7 separate regions of the Homo sapiens genome follow, and regions 1, 3, 4, 5, 6 and 7 are each linked to region 2. The links are contacts of gene promoters, found by promoter capture Hi-C in blood cells and fetal thymus (Javierre and others, 2016). All regions are on one chromosome and are shown on one strand. Each heading gives the region's core, a stretch centred on a gene start or on the middle of the fragment in contact. The rest is flanking DNA. Distances are from core to core; before and after follow the strand shown.

Region 1 (2,875 bases), core at 59-2,558, 500 kb before region 2:
TCTTTCTCGTGTGTGTATGGGTGTGTGTGTTTTGTCTGCTTGTTTGTTTTTTGAGACAGAGTCTCGCTCTGTTACCCAGGCTGGAGTGCAGTGGCACAATCTTGGCTCACTGCAACCTCTGCCTCCTGAGTTCAAGCAACTCTCCTGCCTCAGCCTCCCTAGTAGCTGGGATTACAAGCATGTGCCACCACACCCGGCTAATTTTTCTGTTTGTTTTTGACATGGAGTTTTGCTCTTGTTGCCTAGGGTGGAGTGCAATCGTGCAATCTCGACTCACTGCAACCTCTGCCTCCAAGGTTCAAGTGATGCTCCTGCCTCAGCCTCCTGAGTAGCTGGGATTACAGGCTCCTGCCACCTCACCCAGCTAATATTTTTTTTTTTTTGTATTTTTTAGTAGATACAGGGTTTCACCATGCTGGCCAGGCTGGTCTCGAACTCCCGACCTCAGGTGATCCGCCTGCCTTGGCCTCCCAAAGTGCTGGGATTATAGGGGTGAGCCACCACGCCCAGCCTTGAAGCTCCTTTGTGAAGCCTGTAGACCAAGTTTTATTGTTTCCATTTTCTAGATAAGAAAACAGAGGCTCAAGAAAGTAATGTGATTTTCCCAAGGTCATACTGTAAGTGACAAAGCAGAGACTGAGACCCAGATTTCCAACCCAAGTTCTCTTTTTATTATGCTGTACTAGAAGCAATGGGGTGAATTTATTTATATCCCGTGTGATCCTGTGGACATGTGAATTTGTATCTGTAGGTGCTTTACTGGGAACTCCTGGAAAACAGGGGTTATGAGCTGATTGATTTCCACAATTCTTACAGCAGGATCCTCCATATTAGGAAGCAAATGTACATAGAAAGTAAGGGAGGAAAGAAGACAGAGAAAATAATGGAAGGCTGGCAAGAAGAAAAATAAAGTAGAAGAACAAAATGAAAGGTAAGAAAAAAGAGAAAAAAGTAAAGGGACAGAAAGAAATAATATACATTGCTACATGTGTTGATTAAAGAAAAGAAATAATTCTCTGTGATTTGAAAGGTCTTTCAGAAGCAACAGATATATTGGCAAGAACATGAAGTTAGAACTCAGGGAACCGTGGGTGCAGAATCTACCTCCTACTTAAATGCTCTATTACTTTGGCTGAAATTACGTCCCCTTCTAAGTCTGTTTCCTCAACCTGCAAAATGTGGTTAATACATGCTAACTTTTAGGGTGATTTGTGAGGAAAGCTTGAAAAAAGGAAAGGTGTTTATGGCATCTGACAGGAACTCAATAACAGCATTCCACACCTATGGTTACTCCCACTGAGAGCCTAGAGCCTCAGCCATTCCAGGACTGTTTAATCTTCTTTCCCTTCCAGGTTCTCTATGGGCAGACGGCGAAGGTCTTGGATCAGGTGCTCCAAAGCTTCCTCCCTGAGAACCCTGACTCCAGCGAGGTATAGGTACAGGCCTTCAAGACCCAGAAGGAGTCACAGTCAGCCTCTCAGAGGATGCTGGCTGCCTGGGGAAGGTGGTAGGAGGAGGAAGAGGTGGTGTGTTGAAGTGGTTAAAATCAGGTTTGAATTCAAAACAAATAACAACAAAAAACCTTGTGAATAATCCACTGTTTACTAGCATGTGGATAATTGAGAGTTGACCATGTCCTCTGAGCCTGCCTCAAGCCTTTCATTATTTGGGTTATATGTCCCTTGGGCCTTTGCTAGTTGACCCCTGGCTTCAACTACTGTGGTATACCAGTTAGGGCAGAGGTGATTACATAGGCCTGAGCTGGGAGGCTCTGAGCCTTAATTTTCCTGATTCTCCTTCCCCTCACATTTAGCAACTGATATCCTAGATGAGTTCTGCACTCCCCTATAAGCTCAAGCCAGGGCTGGACTGGTGCCCTTTTTCTCAAGTTTGTCATGGAGCACTTTGGCCATGATGTGAATCTGGCTAATCTTTGGCCTTTTTCTAATCTTCATCCCTCTTACCACATCCTGGCCTCTTTCCCGGCCTCCTGAATAAGTCTATATTTGCACCTCAGGATTATATCTGTCTTTTTGTTTTTCTCAAACTCTTCTCAGCCTTTCTGCTTCTCTTGGAATATCCTCCACTTTCCTTTACTGCCTCCTTCTCTTCAACTTGCTGAGTTTGATTAGGATGGAGGTGCCTTACATGGTCTGGTTCATGATCCTTTGCAAAGTGCCTTCTGCCTTCTGTCTGACAGTTTTCAGGGAAGGTAACTAGTGCCAAATACCAAACTAATCCCAGAAGCAAGTTTGCTTTTCCTCTTTCTTTCCTCTTCTATCCCTCTTCTTTCCATCCTTTCAAACTGAGCCACTTCTACTTGCCAGGTTTTGTGTTGGGAACTAAGAAAACAAAGAAATCAGATGGAATCCCTGCCCTCAATGAGATAAGCACCTCCCCAACCTAGGTCTTTGCCTCTTACTAACAATGAATTCTTTGGCAATTTGTTTAGCATTTCTGGGCTTTGCTCCTTAAATAAGTAGAAATCGGGGCTGAATATGAGTACTGTAAGAGAAGCCAGAGGGAATGCAAAAGAGGGAGTGATCGGTTCCATCTCTGAACAACAGTGAAGGCGCCCTAGTTCATTTCTGCTTCTATAACAAAATACCGCAGGCCAAGATAATTTATAAACAACATACATTTATTTTTCATAGTTCTAGAGGCTAAGAAGTTCAAGATCAAGGCACTGGCAGATTCAGTGTCTGGTGAGGACTGCTGTCTGCATCTGAGATGGCTCCTTCTTGCTTCATCCTCACATGGTAGAAGAGCAAAAGGGATGAACACAGTGTTCTCACATGGCAGATGAGATAAAAGTGCCAGGCAGCTATCTGAAGCCTATTTTATAAGGACATTAATCTCATTCACAAGGGCAGAG
Region 2 (3,111 bases), core at 271-2,770:
TCTAAAATGCTCCCTCAAGCCCCAGGCTTAAGCCCTAGCTCAAACCAACAGACTTGGAGAAGGTAGAGAGATACATTATAAAACCTGCTAGAGAATGGAAATGTGGTAGTTATAGAAAGAAAAATGTTTTTTCAGGAGCATTAACTCTGCCACTAATGCTCTTTGGCTTGGGGGCAAATTATTTTTTCTCTTGGTTGACTTAATTCAGAGTCTTTTCTAACTCTGAGGTTCCAGAGTGTGATGGGTCACAGAGCCCCAGGATAGGGTAACCTAATCAGAGTCAGCTACGGAAAGCTGGATTCTTTCTGACCTAACAAGTGACACCAAGCTAACACCTATCCAGCCTTTTTCTCTAGGGATGATAGGGAAGCAGCAAAATCCCCCTTTACCCTATATTGGATCTCACTTAGCTGTTACCCAGGTTGAGTTTCCTGAAAATCCATCTCACTTCTCAGGAGTGTAGATGAGGATAGAGCTTCCCAAGCTCCAAGGAAATAATGCCACTATGGAATAGTCCATCCTCCTTTGGGATTTGTATCCAGCCCATAAATAGCCCAGACAAATTGAGCCATGTCTATAGGGAAGTGAGTTATCCCAGGAATGGGTAAGAAACCAAGTCCTATGAAGACCAGTTGAAAAAGCTGGGGCTGTTCAGCTTGGAGGAGAGAAGAGTCAAGGAGACATAGTACTTGTCCTCAGGGCTTTGAAGGGCTATCACAGGGCAAGGAAGCATCTATGTTCTGTGTAGCCCCAAGAAGCAAAGCTGGGGTTTTTGGATGGAAGTCAGAGGGAACTGGATTTAGTTCAACACAAATAAGAACTTTCTAACAGTTGGAGCTGCTCCTGGATGGACTAGATGGTCTGGGGAGGTAGTGAACAGTGAAATCTCAATCACTACTGGATGTTTCTGAGCACTTATTCATGACAATGAAGGGTGGTATAGGTTACTTCTATAGTCCTATCCAACTCTTAGAAAACACTCCTTCTTCGGGGGCTGTATATTTTAACAGAGACCAAAGCTTGGAAGCAGAGTGGTTAAGTCCAATTGTAGAATTTTAGATGAGAGACAGCAGATGGAGGAAAGATTCGGATGTCATTGGGAACCTTCTTGATGCCCCTGAGATACAAGCCCTAGAAAATAATGCAGATGTTTTCCAAGAGAAAAATCCTTTTTCAATTTCTGCCCAAACTTGCCTTCTGGCTTCTTCAGCAGCCTTCAACTACATCCATCCGTTTTGCTCAAGGCTGAGAGAGCCTGCAGAGTTTGGCTGAGAAGACTCACCTGCCCAGTAGGAATAGGCTTTCCATAGTAGACATTAAACACCAACCCTCTAGCCTTTTGCCTAAGCCAGCAATGGCAGCCAGGCCCCCCTTTCTGCCTTACCATAAGTGTCCACTGTTAGGTGCCCCAGGAGTAGCAGGCCCAGTAAGATCCCCATCACAGCCAGAGCTACTTCTGTCCTTTCTTCCAGCCTCCTGCTACCAAAGAGGCTCAAACTTCTGGTGGCCGCCAGCGTCTGTGACTGCTTACTTCCCTTCCTTCCCTATATCTCTCACTCAAACTCCTAGTCCCATCACACATTCCCCTTCCTTCCCTATTTCAGTACAGGTCATGTGGGGTGCCCCCCTTCCCCCACCTCCTTGGGGTTGGAGGTTCCAGGATGAGTGAAGCAATTCTTCCCCCTGCTAGGGTATTGACTTGACTTTCCTTGGAGCCAATGGGGCTTTCTGGTCTTTGATCTCCTAGGCTGTATTTATTTTGAGTCTCCTCCACAAGATTCAGAGGTTGTGGGGGCGACCTTTGGGATGAGTCTTCCCACTCCAGTATGGCGGTGTTTTCCTTTGTGGTGAGCCCAGGGAGAAGAGATCAACTTTGCTGACCTACCCAATTTTCATTAGTTGTACTGTTAACCCTTGCCTGTGCAGCCTATGCAACTGGACAGGGTGTTGGGCCCGGGGTGCTTTTGGGCTTAAGAGTACAAGAGTTTAGTGTATTAAAGGGCTTTCTACACATCAAAGCTTGAATAATTGACAAGCCAATGGATAAGGCTGTTATGGGTGAATATGCCTCATATCTCATATTGGGGAAGCTCTTTGAATCACTTTCTACAATGGCTCCACCTCTCTGATGGTAAGGGAGAATTCATTTTCATTAATGTTCTCCATGCTTTTTCATAAGGAATTTATTTTTTACTTCTTTTAAGGGAAATTTAAGCCTAGCCTCCAGTGCAGCAGCCCATTAGTGGTATGCTGTATTAGGTTGAATTTTTCATTGACTTCCAATTGGTACAGGCCCTTGACCTACAAGAGAGTAATATTATGCCTCCTAGCAAAGCTCAACTGCTCCAGAAATTGCTCCTCTTCACAGGCCCCAGAGTGACTGTAATTTCATCAGCAGTCTAACTAGGTTTGGCACTGCGCTTTGTCTACTAAGCTTTGAAACAATAAGCACTTTCAAAAGCACAAATACATCCCAAAAATTCATACTGCACTGTAAGTAACAGCTAAGCTTAGTTTACTCTTTGATTGGAGGGATAGGAAAGGACTTGGTCAGGGGAGGGAGGAGTTTGTGCAGAGATGGGGAGTGGGAATATAAAGAAACATACTTGCCAAGGGGTGGCTGCATGCAGATGATTTGGAGCTGTGCACGGGCTAAGGAGACATTCCAGCATTTCAGGACACATTATTACATGGAATTCTATCAATCACCTCTGCCTCTAGGGCCCAATCCCCCTTGGCTGGTTGTTCCTTGTTTTTTGAGTACTGCACTCATTCCATCTCACTGGAAATTTCAGCCATTTTTTCCCACCGGGTCCTCACTCAGGAAACCCTGAACTTCACAGAACCCTCCTTTGATATTTTTCAACCAACACCCTATCACCACTACACCACCACCACCGCACAGACACACACACACACACACACACACACACGCACACACATACACACACACACACCCCTCCCCTTCCCCGCTAAAAAGCCCACTGGACAGATGTAAATTTCTGCCTGGCCAGGTGATTGTGTGTTTTGTGCTACCTCTTGCATTTTATTAGGACCTCCTGGATCTGAAGATAAATAAATGTCCTGGGGAGTATGCACAACATTACTTCA
Region 3 (3,281 bases), core at 425-2,924, 390 kb before region 2:
ATGGCTAGGCTGAATATAAACCAATGCCTTTGGTGTAGTGTGAAGTAGGGGGAAGTCTCTTAAAAATAGTTAGGAATGTTTGAGGCCTGTATTTCTCAGAAAAAAAATAATGTTAAAATGTGTTCTGGTCTGAGACTAGGGAGTAAAGAATGAGAAAAAGTGTTTTAGGAACGTAAGTGGTGGGAGGAAGGGGCTACTATACATTAGGCTGACTTGGAAATACAGATTAGGCCGAACAACACACACACAAGCAAATGGGCACATAAACAGGCAAGCATGGGAGCCTGTTTGCTCCATGTGTATGTTATCCATGTGTATGGATAACATACACATGGCCAAACAAAGGCACATCTGGGGGCCCAGGAAGACTCCAGAACCTACATTTATATACCACATACACATAGCTATGACCACACTTTTTCTATGTGGAAGTATGTATTTTTTGAGATGGAGTTTTGCTCTTGTTGCCCAGGCTGGAGTGTAGTGGCGCGACCTCGGCTGACTGCAACCTCCACCTCCCGGGTTCAAGTGATTCTTTTGCCTCAGCCTCCCGAGTAGCTGGGATTACAGACGCCTGCCACTACACCCAGCTATTTTTTTGTATTTTTTGGTAGAAACGGGGTTTCACCACATTGACCAGACTGGTCTTGAACTCCTGACCTCAGGTGATCCGCCTGCCTCGGCCTCCCAGTGTGCTGGGATTACATGCGTGAGCCACTGCACCTGGCTCTATGCAATCATTTTATGGAGACCCTTCTTTTTTTTTTTTTTTTTTTTGGGACAGAGTCTTCCTCTGTCGCCCAGGCTGGAGTGCAGTGGCGCGATCTCCACTCACTGCAAGCTCCGCCTCCCGGGCTCACACCATTCTCCTGCCTCAGCCTCCTGAGTAGCTGGGACTACAGGCGCCCACCACCACACTCAGCTAATTTTTTATTTATTTTTTTTTTGTATTTTTTAGTAGAGACAGGGTTTCACCACATTAGCCAGGATGGTCTTGATCTCCTGACCTCGTGATCGGCCCTCCTCGGCCTCCCAAAGTGCTGGGATTACAGGCGAGCCACCACGCCTGGCCTTGCAAAGACCCTTCTTATAGCCAACCTTATATATCCTCCTGGCCAAAAATATTGGGAGGTAGCTATTATTATTACCCCAATTTTTACAGGAAACTGAGGCTTGGGTTAATCAACTGATTTACCTAAAGTTGCTGAACTAGTTATTGGAAAAACAGACTAAAACCAGGTGTTCTGTTTCCAAAATTTACTGCTTTCAAGGTGGCACTTTCTCTCTCTCTCTTTCCCTCATACATATACTAAAGAAAAAAAAATGTGCAGCTATCTTGCTATATATACATAAAGGCATATACGTATGAATAAAGCATATACACCACCAGTGGCCAGTAGGAGTTTTTGGGTTGTGCTCTCATGGAGGTCTTAGTAAGAGGAGAAGGGTCTGCTCAAAGCCCTGACCCATCCTGCTTTCTGTTCCTTGTCCAGTCACCTATGACTGTTTTTTCAGAGCGTTGTAGGTGGGAGCTTTTTATGCCAGGGTAATAGTTTTTATTGGCCCTGCTGAGATGAAGTCTTTTATCCCCATACCTCAACACTTAGGATGTGGGGAGTGGTGAAAAAATATATTATATTCCTTTTTTTTTGTCTGTCTCCCTCACTAGGTTGTGAGCCCTGTAAGGGTAGAAACTTTTGTTTTTTTCATGTCTGTATACACAGAGCCTAGTACAGTGCCTTTTGTGTAGTAAGCATACACACAAAAAATTGTTGAATGAATGAATAATAAAGTCAGATAGTTGAATGAATGAATAATAAAGTCAGATAATAAAGTCAGATAGGCTTGTTTCATTATAGGATGAATAATAAAGTCAGATAGGCTTGTTTCATTATAGGATGAATAATAAAGTCAGATAGGCTTGTTTCAAGACCCTACTTATAATGAGATCATGGCCAAGTGACCTTACTTCCTTGAGCCTCAGTTACCTTATCTGTCATATATGGATTGACACTCTGATTACCTAAGATGTTCTTGGTAGTGAATGACATAATGATTTGAAAATGGCTCTGTTTTTATTTGAGGGCTTCTTACATATTGATTTTATAGACCCTTAGGGCATAGAAATTTTCTCTTCAACCTCCCAGAGTATGGGGTCATGTAACCTTTGTCAACAAACTTTCAATTACGAGGACCTCAGTACTTTTTGAATGACTCTCTCCAGTTTTGGACAGCTGTGACTATACAAACCTTCTCCCTCGTGTCCCACTGTGGCTTTCTCCCACTTGATCCAGCTCTGCCTCTTGGCATTCAGAAGTCTGATTCAGAAGAAGACATAGACATCTCCCTGAATCTTCTAATAGGTCTAATAGATCAGAAACCTCTTTTCATGATAGCTTGTGGTTTTTTTGTTTTATTTTGTTTTGTTTTGTTTTTTGAGACAGAGTCTTGTTCTTGTCGCCCAGGCTGGAGTGCAGTGGCGTGACCTTGGCTCACTATAACCTCTGCTTCCCGGGTTCAAGTTGTTCTCCTGCCTTAGCCTCCCAAGTAGCTGGGACTACAGGTGCCTGCCATCATGCCTGGCTAATTTTTGTATTTTTAGTAGAGACAGGGTGTCACCATATTGTCCAGGCTGGTCTCGAACTCCTGACCTCAGGTGATTCACCCGCCTTGGCCTCCCAAAGTTCAGGGATTACAGGCATGAGCCACCATGCCTGGCTGATAGCTTGTGTTTTCAAAAGGCTGAATTATTGTATGGATATACCATAATGTATTTAATTAGTGCTCTGGTGATGGACATTTATGTTGTTTCCCTTGATTATTATAGTATTGCAGTGAATGTCTTTGTAAATGCCTCTTTGTACACAGTATAGTGTTTACCTAAGGCAGACTGGGAGCAGAGCTGAAAAGATCTATGCCTGTGTGTGTGTGTGTGTGTGTGTGTGTGTGTGTGTGTGTATTGTGTTTGTTGTTGTGAGTTGGGAGAGAGAAAGTGATGACATAGGAGAATCTGTTCCATTAGTCTTGTCTCCTAACAGGATAAGTTGAGGCAATGTGAAGGGGAATGTGTGCCCTTAGAGAAACTGAACATAATACAAGTTGATAGGCCTGCAAGGCTGGAAATGAGCAGATCCCTCTCTTCTCTGGCCTAGCTGAGCAACCTGTCATGAGCTCCAAGGTTATGCCTAGAAGTGTTCTGGACTCCTTCTGCATGGAACAAAAACTGTGATCCCTTTATGGGAGCAACTACAGCCCAGCCTGGAATGGAAAATTAAAATTAA
Region 4 (3,149 bases), core at 435-2,934, 360 kb before region 2:
CCCCCCTCCCAGGTTCCTTATTCCCCTTGGTGCCTGGGCCATTGTAGATCTAGCATATGCTTGGTGGGGACATCTGCCATTTGCTTTAGGGTTACACTACATCTTTCTACTTTGAGTGCTTGAAGAGTTGCTCCAGCAGGGCCTGATGTGGGCCTGGTGAAAATCTAGCCTAGTTGCCTTTCTGTCTGCCATAGCCTGGGCATTTTCCTAAGGTTGGGAGTTTTTTTCCTTCTGGTCTTAGGCCAGTTGCCAGAGGAAACCGATGACTAAAGGCTTCCTCCCTGCAACGTCAACTTCTGGAACCTTTCCTGATGATTCCTACCAGTCAAGTCTGCCTTATTTGGCTATTTTCTCCCCCCTCAAGTTACTCCCTCTCCTTGCCACCCCACCTCAACTAGTCCTCTGTTCTCCTTTAGTACAGGGAATGCCTTCTTCAAGTTTATACAATACCACCTGCAAACTTCTTTTCTTCTTGTTTAGAGTCCTAATATGGGGGAGGAGTGGGGAAGGAGAGAGGAAGATGGGAGAGCTCTGGAATGACTGTGATTTCTCCACCCTGCTTTCTTATCTCCCTTTATCCTCTTGGCACTGCCTGGTCACTCCTCTACAGCTTCTTACCTAGATCTCTGACAGCCTAGGAGTGGTCTCGATTGGCCTAAAGAGGTTCAGAGTGTGGGGGTGGGATGGGGCTAGGGCTTTCAGCATTTGAAACTATTTCTTTGGAGCAGGTAAAGCCTTCCAGTTGGTAAGTCTAGTTCTTTAAGTATGCCTGTTGTATGCCTAGCCTTCTCACTTGGCTTTCCTGGGTGGGCTGAGTCTAAGTTCCCTCTACCTCCCCTTCCCAGTCCTGAGCTGTCTAACTTTAGGTTAGAAGAGCTGAGCTTTTGACACTTACAGCTTGGGGCACTTGTCTGGGTGTCTTTAAAAATACCTTTTAGTAAAAAATGGTACAATGGAAAGAAGAGTGAGATATTTGGTTTTTAATCTCTGCCTGTGTGACCTTGGGCAAGTCACTTTTATGAGGCTTAATTTTCTTATCTACAAAATAGAGACATTGGCTTTTTCTGACATTCTGATTATTTGTGCCCAGTCTTTAAGAGGCTAGGAAAGGGGTCTTGGAAAGCGTGTAGCAGAGCAGAGTGGTGACTTTTCGGAGAAGCTTCCTTTTCCCATTTAGAATGGCATTGAGTGTGTCATTTTCTCCTCTGGCTATCAACATGTAAGCAGCCCCCTCTATTTCAGTGAGCTCTGCTCTGGGATATACTGAATCTACCTACCAGAGAGCTCACTGTGGAGATTCTGGCTTGGAGAGACAACTGTTGACTACATGCCTTGGGTGGGGTCTTGGAGTCCAGCCTGCAGACTACAGTTGCTGGCTATTTTTGGTCATCTGTGACTCAGGAAGAATAGAAGACCCTTGGATTGGTCATTGTTCCATCAGGGAAAGGGAAGACAAAGAAACAAGCTAAAACTGAGGACATATGAGATTTCACTTCCTTTACTCCCTCCCCCACAACATCCCTTTTTGTAGGGCTATGAAATTGCTTTTGACTGAGTCTTAAATTGCTAAGCTCCCTTTCCCCTTCCTCTATCTGAATCATTGTTGACTATGTTGCCCTTGGACGGGGAGAGCTAGGTGATATGGGCTTGGGTGGAGCAAAAGGGAGAATTTCTAGTCAGGAAGATTGCCACACACCTAGTGTTGGGCTTTCAACTGATCCTGTATTTTGTAAATATGGTTTCCTTTGGTATTAGTCCTGGAGATCAAAGGAGAGGGACTTCTGAATTTTCTGTGAGGGCCTACAAGGCTGATAGGGAATAAGCAAGTTTATGGGAAAGGTGTACCCTTCACTGGATCTGTTTTTACCCATCCTCTACTTCTTCCTCCTTTTCGTCCTTCTCACTGACACTTTATCCAGTGCTTGCTTGTGAAACAAGGATCCCACATTGGATCTCAGCCACCTAAGAGTTGGCCATGAACATAAACCTTACCTGCTCTGAGCCCCCTGGAGAAAGCACAAGAAGTCTTGGCATCTGTTTTCCTTCCTTTAGAAACAAGTTCCTTGGGCATCCTTGGGCAGTTTAACCAGAGAAGCCTTAGTTGGGTAGTGCTGGGCAGTGCTGTTAGGGGGAAGATTCTTCTCCAGCATTGAGCTGGAATGGCCTGTGGGCTATGCAGGAGCTTGCTGCTGGAAGCAGCTGCCTTGCTGGAAGCTTCTCATTCTTCCTAGGTACCTCACATGGGTTGTTAGCGATGCCAGTTGTAGGTGGTGGATCAAAATGGCTGTTGGTTTGGGAAGGTAGGCAAGCAGGTGGAGGAAGAAGGAATGTAGAGTCAAATGGAAGAAGAGTGGTTCTTTTTTTATATTTCCCCTTTTTTTAAAACTCAGCATGGCATATGACAAAGTTTAGCAAATAGAGAGAGAAATTGTGTATAAATTCATCATTTTAACATGGCAATAATTATTTGTATTTCTTGTCGTATCTCATATATGTACCTTAGTTTTTGGTGGTGCAATCATAGTGTACATAAAAAAGTTCTCCTTCTTTCCCCCTACTTAACACATCACTAAAAACTTAGATAAATGCTATTTAATTTTAAGAAATGAACATTCTAATGGCCATGTAAAATTCTATTCAAAGGCTATGCCATAATTTAAAACCATTCTCCTTTGGGGGAGCATTTAGATTACTCCCAGCATTTGCTAGTATAGATACATTCCCATGAATGTGAAAAGAGAAAATTGAAACCTCTTAGCATAGCATATAGGGAGGTCCCTTTGGTACCTCACCCCATTCTAGCTTCCTCTCCCAACTCAGCTCCCATTTATTCCCACATGTATGCTATGTGGTAGCTTTGTGGGCCCAAGGTTTCCCAAGTCCAAGTAAGCTATACCCGTCCTTTTTCTTTTTTTCATCCAGCTTTTTCAGGTTGAATTTGTTTTGTTTTGTTTTGTTTTTTTGAGACAGAGTCTCACTCTGTTGCCCAGGCTGGAGTGCAGTGGTCCAATCTTGGCTCACTGCAACCTCCACCTCCTGGGTTCAAGCGATTCTTGTGCCTCAGCCTCCCTAGCAGCTGGGATTACAGGGATGTGCCACCAAACCTGGCTAATTTTTGTATTTTTTTAGTAGAGAAAGGGTTTTACCAT
Region 5 (3,169 bases), core at 540-3,039, 410 kb before region 2:
TACTTGAGCCCAGGGGTTTGAAACCAGCCTAGGCAACATAGTGAGAGTCCATTTGTTAAAAAATAAAATAAAACAAAAAAGAAAATGCTAGCTGGGTATGGTGGTATGTACCTGTAATAATCCCAGCTACTGGGGAGGCTGAGGTGGGAAGATCTTTTGAGCCCAGGGGCTGGAGGATGCAATGAACTATGATCGTGCCGCTGCATTCCAGCCTGGGTGACAGAATGAGACCCTGCCTCAAAAACAAAACAAAACAAGCAAACAAACAAAAACCCTCAAAAACCCTGCACCTTTTACCAGTCACTCCCATTCCTTTCACCCTCCTTACCCCAGCGCTAGGCAACCACTAGTCTACTTTCTATCTCTATGGATTTGCCTTTTCTGAATATTTCATATAAATGAAATCATACATTTTGTGGTCTTTTGTTACTGATTTCTTTCACTTGGTACAATTTTGCATGGTTCATATCATATCATGTGTCAATACTTCCTTTTAAAAATTTTTTGAAATTTTAATTTTGAGATAATAGTAGATTTACATACAGTTGAAATAAATACTATAGTCCCCTGCATTTTTCCTCAGTTACCTGCACTCATAAAATCTTGCATAACTATTGTGTAATATCACAACCAGGATATTGACATCGATATAGTCAAGATGCAGAACATTTTCACTACCACAGAGATCTCTCATGTTGTCCTATTATAGTCACACCTACCTCCCATCTACCTCTATATCCTGCTTCTTTTTTTTTTTTTTGTCTGAGACAGAGTCTCGCTCTGTTGCCCAGGCTGGAATGCAATGGCGCCATGTCTGCTCACTGCAACCTCCACCTCCCGGGCTCAAACAATTCTCCTGCCTCAGCTTCGAGTAGCTGGGATTACAGGCGCCCACCACCATGCCCGGATAATTTTTGTTTTTTTAGTAGAGATGGGATTTCACCATGTTGGCCAGGCTGGTTTTGAACTCCTGACCTCAAATGATCTGCCCACCTCGGCCTCCCAAAGTGATGAGATTACAGATGTGAGCCACCGTGCCCAGCCCCCTACATCCTTCTTAACCGCTGACAACCACTATTCTGTTTTCCATGCATTTAATTTTGTCCTTTCAAAAATGTTATATGAATGGATTCTTACAATGTGTAATCCTTGAGATTGACTTTTTTCACTCAGTATGATTCTTTTAAAGTTAATCCAAATTGTCACCTATATCAATAGTTCATTCCTTTTTACTGCTGAATAGTATTCCATGTTATTGATGCACCGCAGCTTGTTTATCCATTCACCCACTGAAGGACATTTGGGCAGTTTCTAGTTTGGCGCTATTATTATTACTTTATTTTGAGACAGGGTCTCACTCTGTTGCCCATGCTGGAGTGCAGTCGCATGATCATGGCGCACTGCAGCCTCAACCTTCTGGGCTCAAGTGATCCTCTCACCTCAGCCTCTCAAGTAGCTGGGACAAGCATGTGCTACTACACCTGGCTGATTTTTTCATTTTTATATTTTGTAGACATGGAATCAAACTAAAGACCCAGGCTCGTTTCGGATTCCTGGGCTCAAGCAATCTTCTTGCCTCAGCATCCTAAAATGTTGGGATTACAGGCATGACCCACCCCACCCCACCATGCCCAGCCTGGGCTATTATTAATAAAACAGTTATGAGCATTCCTGTACAGGTTTTCTTGTGAACAGAAATGTTTAATACTCTGGGATAAATGCCTAAATATGCAGTTACTGAGCGATGGTTTGAATGTGTCCCCCAAAAATCATGTGTTGGAAACTTAACCCCTAATGCAACAGTGTTGGAATGTGGGGCCTAATAATAGATTGTTAAGCCATGAGGCTGGAGTGAATGGATTAATGCTGTTATCGTGGGAGTGGGCTCATTATAAAAGGGGAAGTTTGGCCCCCTTTTACCGTCTCTTCCTTACCCTTTATTTGCTCTTCTGCCATGGGATGATGCAGCAAGAAGGCCCTTGCCGGATGCTAACCTCTCGATTTTGGACTTTCGAGCCTCCAGAAAACATGAGTCAATAAATTTCTGTTCATTATAAATGATCCAATCTGTGGTATGCTGTTGTAGTAGAATGAAATAGACTAAGACATACTGGGTCACACTGTAGCTGCATTTCTAGTTTTATAAGAAACTACCAAACTATTTTTCAGAATGACTGTATCATTTTACATTCCCAACAACAATGTATGAGTGATTCAGTTTCTTCACATCCTTCACTGATTCAGTTCCTTAAATTTCTTCACATCGTTGGTGTTGTCGCTGTTTTTTTAATTGTAGCCATTCTGATAGCTGTGTAGTGATGTCTCTTTGTATGACTTGGGCATATAGTACCTACCTCAGTGGGACTCGTGAAGGTTCACGTGTATAAAGTGTCTGGCACAGCTAGATAAATGTTAGCTATAATTATTACTACATAGATGGAGATGACATGGTCCCTGCCATCAAAGTAGTTATTATCTCGTGGAAGACAAAGATGTGGAAACAAATAATGTTAATCCAGATTGCTAAATGGAGGAGTCATGATCCAAAAAATATGGGACTCCAGACTGAAGATGAAGGATCATTAGGGAGGATTTCTCAGGAGAAGTAATCCTCAGCTAAGCCTTGAAGGATAAGTTAGCTTAGCTAAGCAAAGGGAGGGCTGGCATGGATTCATTTCAGGCAGAGAGGACAGAAAGGGCATATTATGGTAGCCACAGATTTAATATGGCTGTAGGTTAGGGAGGTAGTAGTGGGAATAAGCCAGAGATGTAGCTGGGGAGGACATTGTGAGGGATCAAGCAAGGACCTACTTGTTACAAAAAAAGAGTTTAGACTTTACCCCCATAGACATTGGAGAGCCACAGAATCCCCAAGGGTGATATCTGACCGAGGTGGAGACTTTTTTTGCACCCCTTTTCTTCAGAAATTTCTGCCCAGATGCCCACTGGAAAGGAGGTGACTTCTTCATGGGACCCTTGGTAGGCTGGCATGCTCCCTTTTCAAGGGCTTCTGTTATAAAAAGCTCTTTATGCATTAGGCATATTTACAATTCTTCTCTAACCTACCACCAAACAAAGCACAAACATGGCCATAAACACTTAATTAATCACATCTCAGTTCTGATTAAGACAATAAACCCAGATCCCAGATTTCCATTCTTTAATTCAC
Region 6 (3,029 bases), core at 200-2,699, 370 kb after region 2:
GTCTGTCATCTCTGCATTGTTTTATCATAATTTTTCTCTTTCTTGGATTGTGTTTCATTGTACTTCTATAGCTGAATGATCTTTATTTTTATCCATATTCTGAATTCCTTTTCTGTAATTTCAGCCATCTCAGCTCATTTCAGAAGATCATTTGGAGAAAAGAATGCACTATGGTTTTTTAGTTGTCAGGATTCTTGCACTGATTTTTTCTTTATTCATTTTTGTGGGCTTACCTTTCTTCAATCTTTGAAGTTGGTGATGTTTGGATTTTTTTGTTTTATCTTATTTGATAAACTTGAGGGTTTGATTATGGTATAAGGTGGATTAAGCTGAATGGTTTTATTTCTGGAAGATTTTTGGGGTCCAAAACTTAGCTCCCAACTCCAGACTGCATGCTCTAACTCTGGGGGACTTGTATTGGGCCCTGACTTTGTTCTGTGGCTCTTTGAGGTTAGAAATTCACTGTGCTGGTGGGACAAAGTGCTCCCGGACAGCTAGTCCCTGCACTTCGATGGGTGGTGCCAGCCAAAGCATTTCATTGTGCGGTGACAGTGAAATCCATTCTCATTTGCACATGGCAGCATCAGCAGCAGTATCGGCAGATGCAGCACAGTGCTAGGAGATGCTGGTGTGCCTAGCTACCTGTGGCCTTTCACAACAGTGATGGAGACAGCACAGCTAGGATGAGGGGGTACACTGCTAGCTAGTGTGTGTGGTCGTGCTGGAGGTGGTGGTGGCTTGGGGGGTGGGCACTGATGGGTGCAGGTATGGGTGCCTTCCCTATGGCCTACAAGCAGGAATAGTTAGTTGTTCAGGGCAGGAGATCATCTTTTGTTCTCTGTGCATTGTTAGTGTAAGGATGGAATGATGGAAGTGATGGGGCTGGCTGGATTTTTCCCACCAATGGTTTGTCTGCAATGCCAGTTGGGGTGAGGTGATTCAGGCTGTACCTCTGCATGCTGGCAGGGAAAGGAAAGCAAAAACCACCTGCACAGACATGTGCCAGCAAAGCAATGTGGGAATTTTCCATCCCAGGGGAAGGTACAGTATGGGGAGGGAGCATGTGGGCTTGCATGGCCCTAGGGTCTTTCCTGCTGAAGTTCTCTGCCAGTCAGCCATGGTCCACAAGTGCAGAATGTATAGTCTGTGCCCCTAGGGAACCGAAGGTTGCCCTGCAAGCAGGTGTGGCCAGATGAGACCCCAGGACAGGCCAGCAGACCAAAGGGTGCTGAGGTCTGACCTGCTCCTTCTGATTGGCAAGACCACTCTGCAGAGTTCAGAACTGATAGTTCCCCTAAGGCTAACATCTCCTACAGGAGCAAGTTGAGCCTAGGACGATGGCTGTCTCTGGCCATTCTCTGTACAGATGCTCCTTCATCAAACCCTCTGGGTTCCACATTAGCTGGTTTGCTGCTCCTATCACTTATCTAAGAAGCTCTTCCTGCCAACTGGAGTGTCTGTGTTGGTCAAGGGGTCTCCTGCTGCTGGGGTCCCAGGGAGTATGTTGAAAGTGGGTTGCTCTTTGCTGTTCAACTCACCTATTCCCATGGAGCCATTGTTGACCAGGAATAAGTCTGGGTGTACTGCAGCCCTGCCTAGTGTTTCCAGCTTTCTTCCAATTCAGCCGAGCTTCTGTGTCTTCCTTACATCGACTCCTGTTGCCTTCTCTCTGGAGATCTATTAGGAGCACCTCCAGTCATCTCAGTTCCTTGGTAGGAGCTGTTACACCTGGCTGTGTCTAGTAGGCCATCTTGCCCTTTCCGTGGTTTCTGCAACATACTTCTAAACAACCATTCAGTCAAGGAAGAAATCACAAAAGAAATTAGGACATATCTTGAAACACATGAAAATGAAAACACAACATACCAAAACTTAGGTATAATGTGAAGACAGTCCTAGGTTAGAAATGTATAGCTATAAATGCTTACATTTAAAAGAATAAAGACCTCAAATCAACAACTTAACATTACACTTTGATAAAATAAAAAAGAACAAACAATTCAAAACTGGTAGAAGGAATAAAATAATAAAGAGTGGAGCAGAGATAAGTAAAATAGAAAATAGGAAAATAGGAAAAATGAAGTGTTGGTTCCTTGCAACTATCAACAACATTGATCAAATTTTATCTAGATTGACTATGAAAAAAAGAGAAGACTCAATAAGCAAAGTAAGAAATGAATTAGGGGAAATCACTACCATTTATAAATTAAAGCAATCTACTCCTAGGTGTATACCCAAAGAAATTGAAAGCAGAGATGTGAACAGATACTTATATGTCAATGTTTATTGAACTATTATTTGTATTATTTAAAAGGTTAAAACAACACAAATGTCTGTCAACAAATGAATGAATAAACAAAATGTGATATATACATACAATGGAATATTATTCAACCATTAAATGAGTAATGTTCTGATATTTTCTAAAGCATGACTAAAACTTGAAGACACTGTTCTAAGTGAAATAAGCTAGACAAAAAAGGACAAATATTATATAATTCCACTTGTATGAACCACATAAAATAAGCAAATGTATAGAGGCAGAAAGTAGATTAGAGGTTAGCAAAATTATAGAGAATGGGGAATGGGGACTTAGTGCTTAATTAGTACAGAAGTCCTGTTTGTAGTAAAAGAGTCTTGGAAATTGATAGTGGTGACAGTGGCAAAATCTTATAAATGTAATTAATGCCACTGAATTGTACACTTATAATTGGTTAAAATGTCTAATTTTGTATCCAATGTATAAGCACATTTACTACAATTTTTAAAAATTAACAATGTAGGTGATACCCAATGTAGGTGTTGTCCCTTCTAAATCTCATGTTGAATTGTAACCCCCAACGTTGGAGATGGGGCTGGTTGGGAGATGTTTGGATCATGGTAGTAGATTTCTCCTGGCATGGTGCTATCCTTATTATAGTGAATGAGTTTCCATGAGATGTGGTTGTGTAAAAGAGTGTGACACCTCCCCCTATTCTCTCTCTTTTTGCTCTTGCTTTTCTCATGTGATGTGCCTGCTCACCTTTTAA
Region 7 (3,344 bases), core at 261-2,760, 430 kb before region 2:
TCCATCTCCTTCACCTGTCATATTCAATCTATTATCAAAGTCCATTGGCTCTTTTCAAAATTTATCCTGAACCTAACCTCTTCTGCCCACCTCCACCACCACTACCCTTGTCTAAGCCATCATCACACTTCACCTATATGACTGAAGTGGCCTCCTTCCTGGTCTCCCTGCTTCCATACTTACCTCCCTACAGTCAATGCTCAACCCAGCATTCAGAGTGATCATGTTAAAAACAAAAGTCGGTTTATGTCATTCCTCTGTTCGCACCTAGCCCATGGCTTCTCCAGCACACTCAGGACTTACAATCCTATTAAAGATGCCTCAGCCTCTGTCCTGGGCTCCAGATTAATGTTTGACATCTCCATGTGATAAATTACCATTTGATAATTTGACATCTCCATTTGGTTTGACCTTTCCGTTTGGTAAATTACCATTTGGTAAATTCTCCATTTACCACTGGTAAATCAAAGACAGCCAAAACAGAACATTGCCACTCCAAAGCTTGTTCCTACACAATCTTTCCTGCCAAAGAAACATGGCACCATCATCCACCCAGGTAGCAAGCCAGAAATCTAAGCGTTAGCTTTGCCTCCTCTTTCTTATTACCCCTAACCATTCAGCCTATCGGCAAGTCCTGCTACACTCAGAATATATCCCTAACACATCCACCTCTCTCTTCATTTACTTCCCACCAATCCAGTCCAAGTCCCTATCATCTGTCAACTGGATGACTTGCCCTAGCCTCCTTACAGGTCTCCTGGCTTCTACCCTTGCCCCCTACAACCCATTCTTTACAATAAATCCAGAAGAATCTTTGTAAAACATAGATCATGCTAATCCCCTGCATGAAACTCTCCAGTGTCTTTCCATCACATGAGGACCACAAGCCAAATTTTTTGCTATAGCCCAAAAGAGCCTACATGATCTAGTCCCTGCAAATGTTTCCAACTCCTTCTCCTACTACTCACTCCTTTTCTCACCGTGATTCAGCCACTCTGATCATTTTTCTGGTATTTGAACAGCTCAAACCCATCACCACCTCCTCTCCTTACTAATCACCTGATTCACTCCTTCCTCAGGCATCAGCTCAGATATTCACTGGCTCTGAGAGACTCTTTTCCATATCCCAGACTAAGAAATTCCTTCTGTGTGTCACTCTCACAGCATCCCGTCATTCTCCTTCACAGCGTTAAGCCTAGGTTCAATCGTTAATTTCATTAATTGATTAATCAATCAATTTTTGAGACAGGGTCTTGCTGTGTCCCCCATGCTGGAGTGCAGTGGCATGATCACAGCTCACTGCAGCCTTGACCTCCCAGGCTCAAGCGATCCTTCTACCTCAGCTTCCTGAGTGACTGGGTCTACAAGTATGCACCACCATACCGAGGATTTTTTTTGTTTTTTGTTTGTTTTTATGTTTTTTTTTTTTTGAGACAGAGTCTCGCTCTGTCACCAGGCTGGAGTGCAGTGGCATGATCTTGGCTCACTGCAACCTCCGCCTCCTGGGTTCAAGCAATTCTCTGCCTCAGCCTCCCGAGTAGCTGGGATTACAGGCGCCCACCACCATGCCCGGCTAATTTTTGGATTTTTAGTAGAGATGGGGTTTCACCATCTTGGCCAGGCAGGTCTTGATCTCCTGACCTCGTGATCCACCCGCTTCAGCCTCCCAAAGTACTGGGATTACAGGTGTGAGCCACCACACCCGGCCTGTTTTTATGTTTTGAGACAGAGTCTTGCTCTGTTCCCCAGACCGGAGTACAGTGGTACAATCTCGGCTCACTGCAATCTCCACCTTCCAGGTTCAAGCTATTCTCCTGCCTCAGCTTCCTGGGTAGCTGGGACTACAGGCATGTGCCACCATGCCCAGCTAATTTTTGTATTTTTAGTAGACGAGGTTTTGCCATGTTGGCCAGGCTAGTTTCAAACTCCTGAACTCAAGCAGTTCTCCTGCCTTGGCTTCTCAAAGTGCTAGGATTACAGGTATGAGCCACTGAGCCCAGGCTGATCATCAATTTAATTACTAGATTGTAACCTCCATGAGAACAGGGACTGTCCATCGTAGAATTCTGTCCCATATGCCTAACACAGTAGCTGCAATATAGTATTAATTCATTTGCTTATTCATTCATGCAAAACTATTTATCAAACAGTCACTATTTGCAAGTTACTGTTCTAGGAGCTTGAGGTACAAAACAGACATAAATGACTTGCCTTCATGGAGCTTATATTCCAGTGGGTCACACACTGAGTGGCAGGAATTATATTTGATATTTATTGGATCTGTGATATTAAGCCTGAGTAGAACTGTATTACTTAGTTTATTCATTTATTCAACAAACATCTAATGAGTATTTTCAATGGACCAGGTATTTTATACATCTTTTCATTTAATCCGTGAAATAACCCTGTGAGAGAGATATCACTAGCCCCATTTCTAAGAGAGAGAAATTGAGGCGAGAGAAGTTTAGCAACTTGCCTTAGGTTAAGTAGTAAGCAGTCAAGTGCATGTAGTTTGACCACAAAGCTTGCCAGCTTACTCATCACACTATAACATACTGCTTTTGACAAGTCAGTTCTGGCTCTAAAATGATACAAAGGAACCCCTGCAGGGCCTCTGACCCAGAGGGAGATCTTGAGAAAATGAAGCTATGGAGAAAACTCCCAGCCTACACCAAGCCTGATATAACCCCGATGTACTCTCCATTCCTTGTGGTGATAGAGTAGACCTCATAACTGGGTTTCCTTTGACAGATGGGGAAAATAGAGACACAGGGTCAGGGAAGGAGTCACCCAAAGGCACATTTAGCAGTGAAGAAAGACCCTGGCACCCTTGTATTCATGATATCATAGAATAAGGCACTGAGAGTTAACTTCAGGAAGGAGACCAGTGGTGGTGGCTACAGAACAAGTACCCAATTGTCAATCTTAAGCCTGGGTTCTTGGGTAAGGTCCTGTCTCCATGCCTTTATGTGAACCCAGGAGGTCTTTGCTATTCCAGACCATTCCCTGCCCTCACTTCCAATTCTGCCCTATCCTGAGCCAAATGTTTGAAAGACAGGAGGCAGGGGACATGGTTCTGGGGCTCAACCTCTCCCACCATAAAGGCAAATATAAGGAAAAGTCACTGGGCGTGGTGACACATGCTTGTAATTGTTGCTACTCAGGAGGTTGAGGCAGGAGGATCACTTGAGCCCAAGTGATCTGCCCAAGTGAGCCCAAGACTCTGTCTCAATTAAAATTAAGAAATAAAAAGATACAAGGAAATGTATTCAACACTGAAAGGGAGGCAGGGTGCAAGGGCAGGTGGAAAGGGGCATAGCCCTACCAGACTGCCCTTCCCTGAG

What was found. Contacts are between HindIII fragments. The CHiCAGO score rates a contact against its expected background, and 5 or more counts as called.
Region 1: a contact is called between a fragment that was not itself captured here and the fragment with the promoter of VSIG4 in region 2, in 11 of 17 cell types (activated CD4 T cells, fetal thymus, monocytes and 8 more). The highest score is 9.4, in activated CD4 T cells.
Region 3: a contact is called between a fragment that was not itself captured here and the fragment with the promoter of VSIG4 in region 2, in 8 of 17 cell types (non-activated CD4 T cells, activated CD4 T cells, neutrophils and 5 more). The highest score is 8.4, in non-activated CD4 T cells.
Region 4: a fragment that was not itself captured here is called in contact with the fragment with the promoter of VSIG4 in region 2 in 14 of 17 cell types (M0 macrophages, neutrophils, monocytes and 11 more); the score reaches 16.4 in M0 macrophages.
Region 5: a fragment that was not itself captured here is called in contact with the fragment with the promoter of VSIG4 in region 2 in 10 of 17 cell types (neutrophils, naive B cells, monocytes and 7 more); the score reaches 10.3 in neutrophils.
Region 6: a contact is called between a fragment that was not itself captured here and the fragment with the promoter of VSIG4 in region 2, in 4 of 17 cell types (naive CD8 T cells, total CD4 T cells, total CD8 T cells and 1 more). The highest score is 6.1, in naive CD8 T cells.
Region 7: a fragment that was not itself captured here is called in contact with the fragment with the promoter of VSIG4 in region 2 in 14 of 17 cell types (M0 macrophages, monocytes, neutrophils and 11 more); the score reaches 22.0 in M0 macrophages.

What each region holds. Positions count from the first base shown.
Region 1 is chrX:65,543,741-65,546,615 of GRCh38, forward strand. No RefSeq gene overlaps it. Among named protein-coding and RNA genes, the nearest start is that of LAS1L, 10 kb to the left of the region's middle. The HindIII fragment of the contact is 178 bases long and covers 1,220-1,397 here.
Region 2 is chrX:66,038,560-66,041,670 of GRCh38, forward strand. VSIG4 (V-set and immunoglobulin domain containing 4) reads right to left here and starts at 1,521. Exons shown (of 8, transcript NM_007268.3): 1 at 1,385-1,521. The coding sequence starts at 1,439. The HindIII fragment of the contact is 1,000 bases long and covers 1,018-2,017 here.
Region 3 is chrX:65,653,347-65,656,627 of GRCh38, forward strand. It overlaps a transcript of MSN not described here. Among named protein-coding and RNA genes, the nearest start is that of MSN, 13 kb to the right of the region's middle. The HindIII fragment of the contact is 5,100 bases long and covers 1-3,281 here.
Region 4 is chrX:65,677,804-65,680,952 of GRCh38, forward strand. All of the region lies in intron 1 of MSN (moesin), which reads left to right. Among named protein-coding and RNA genes, the nearest start is that of MSN, 12 kb to the left of the region's middle. The HindIII fragment of the contact is 1,055 bases long and covers 1,158-2,212 here.
Region 5 is chrX:65,630,350-65,633,518 of GRCh38, forward strand. It overlaps a transcript of MSN not described here. Among named protein-coding and RNA genes, the nearest start is that of MSN, 36 kb to the right of the region's middle. The HindIII fragment of the contact is 6,924 bases long and covers 1-3,169 here.
Region 6 is chrX:66,403,884-66,406,912 of GRCh38, forward strand. No RefSeq gene overlaps it. Among named protein-coding and RNA genes, the nearest start is that of EDA2R, 230 kb to the right of the region's middle. The HindIII fragment of the contact is 4,229 bases long and covers 1-3,029 here.
Region 7 is chrX:65,604,719-65,608,062 of GRCh38, forward strand. It overlaps a transcript of MSN not described here. Among named protein-coding and RNA genes, the nearest start is that of MSN, 61 kb to the right of the region's middle. The HindIII fragment of the contact is 2,023 bases long and covers 500-2,522 here.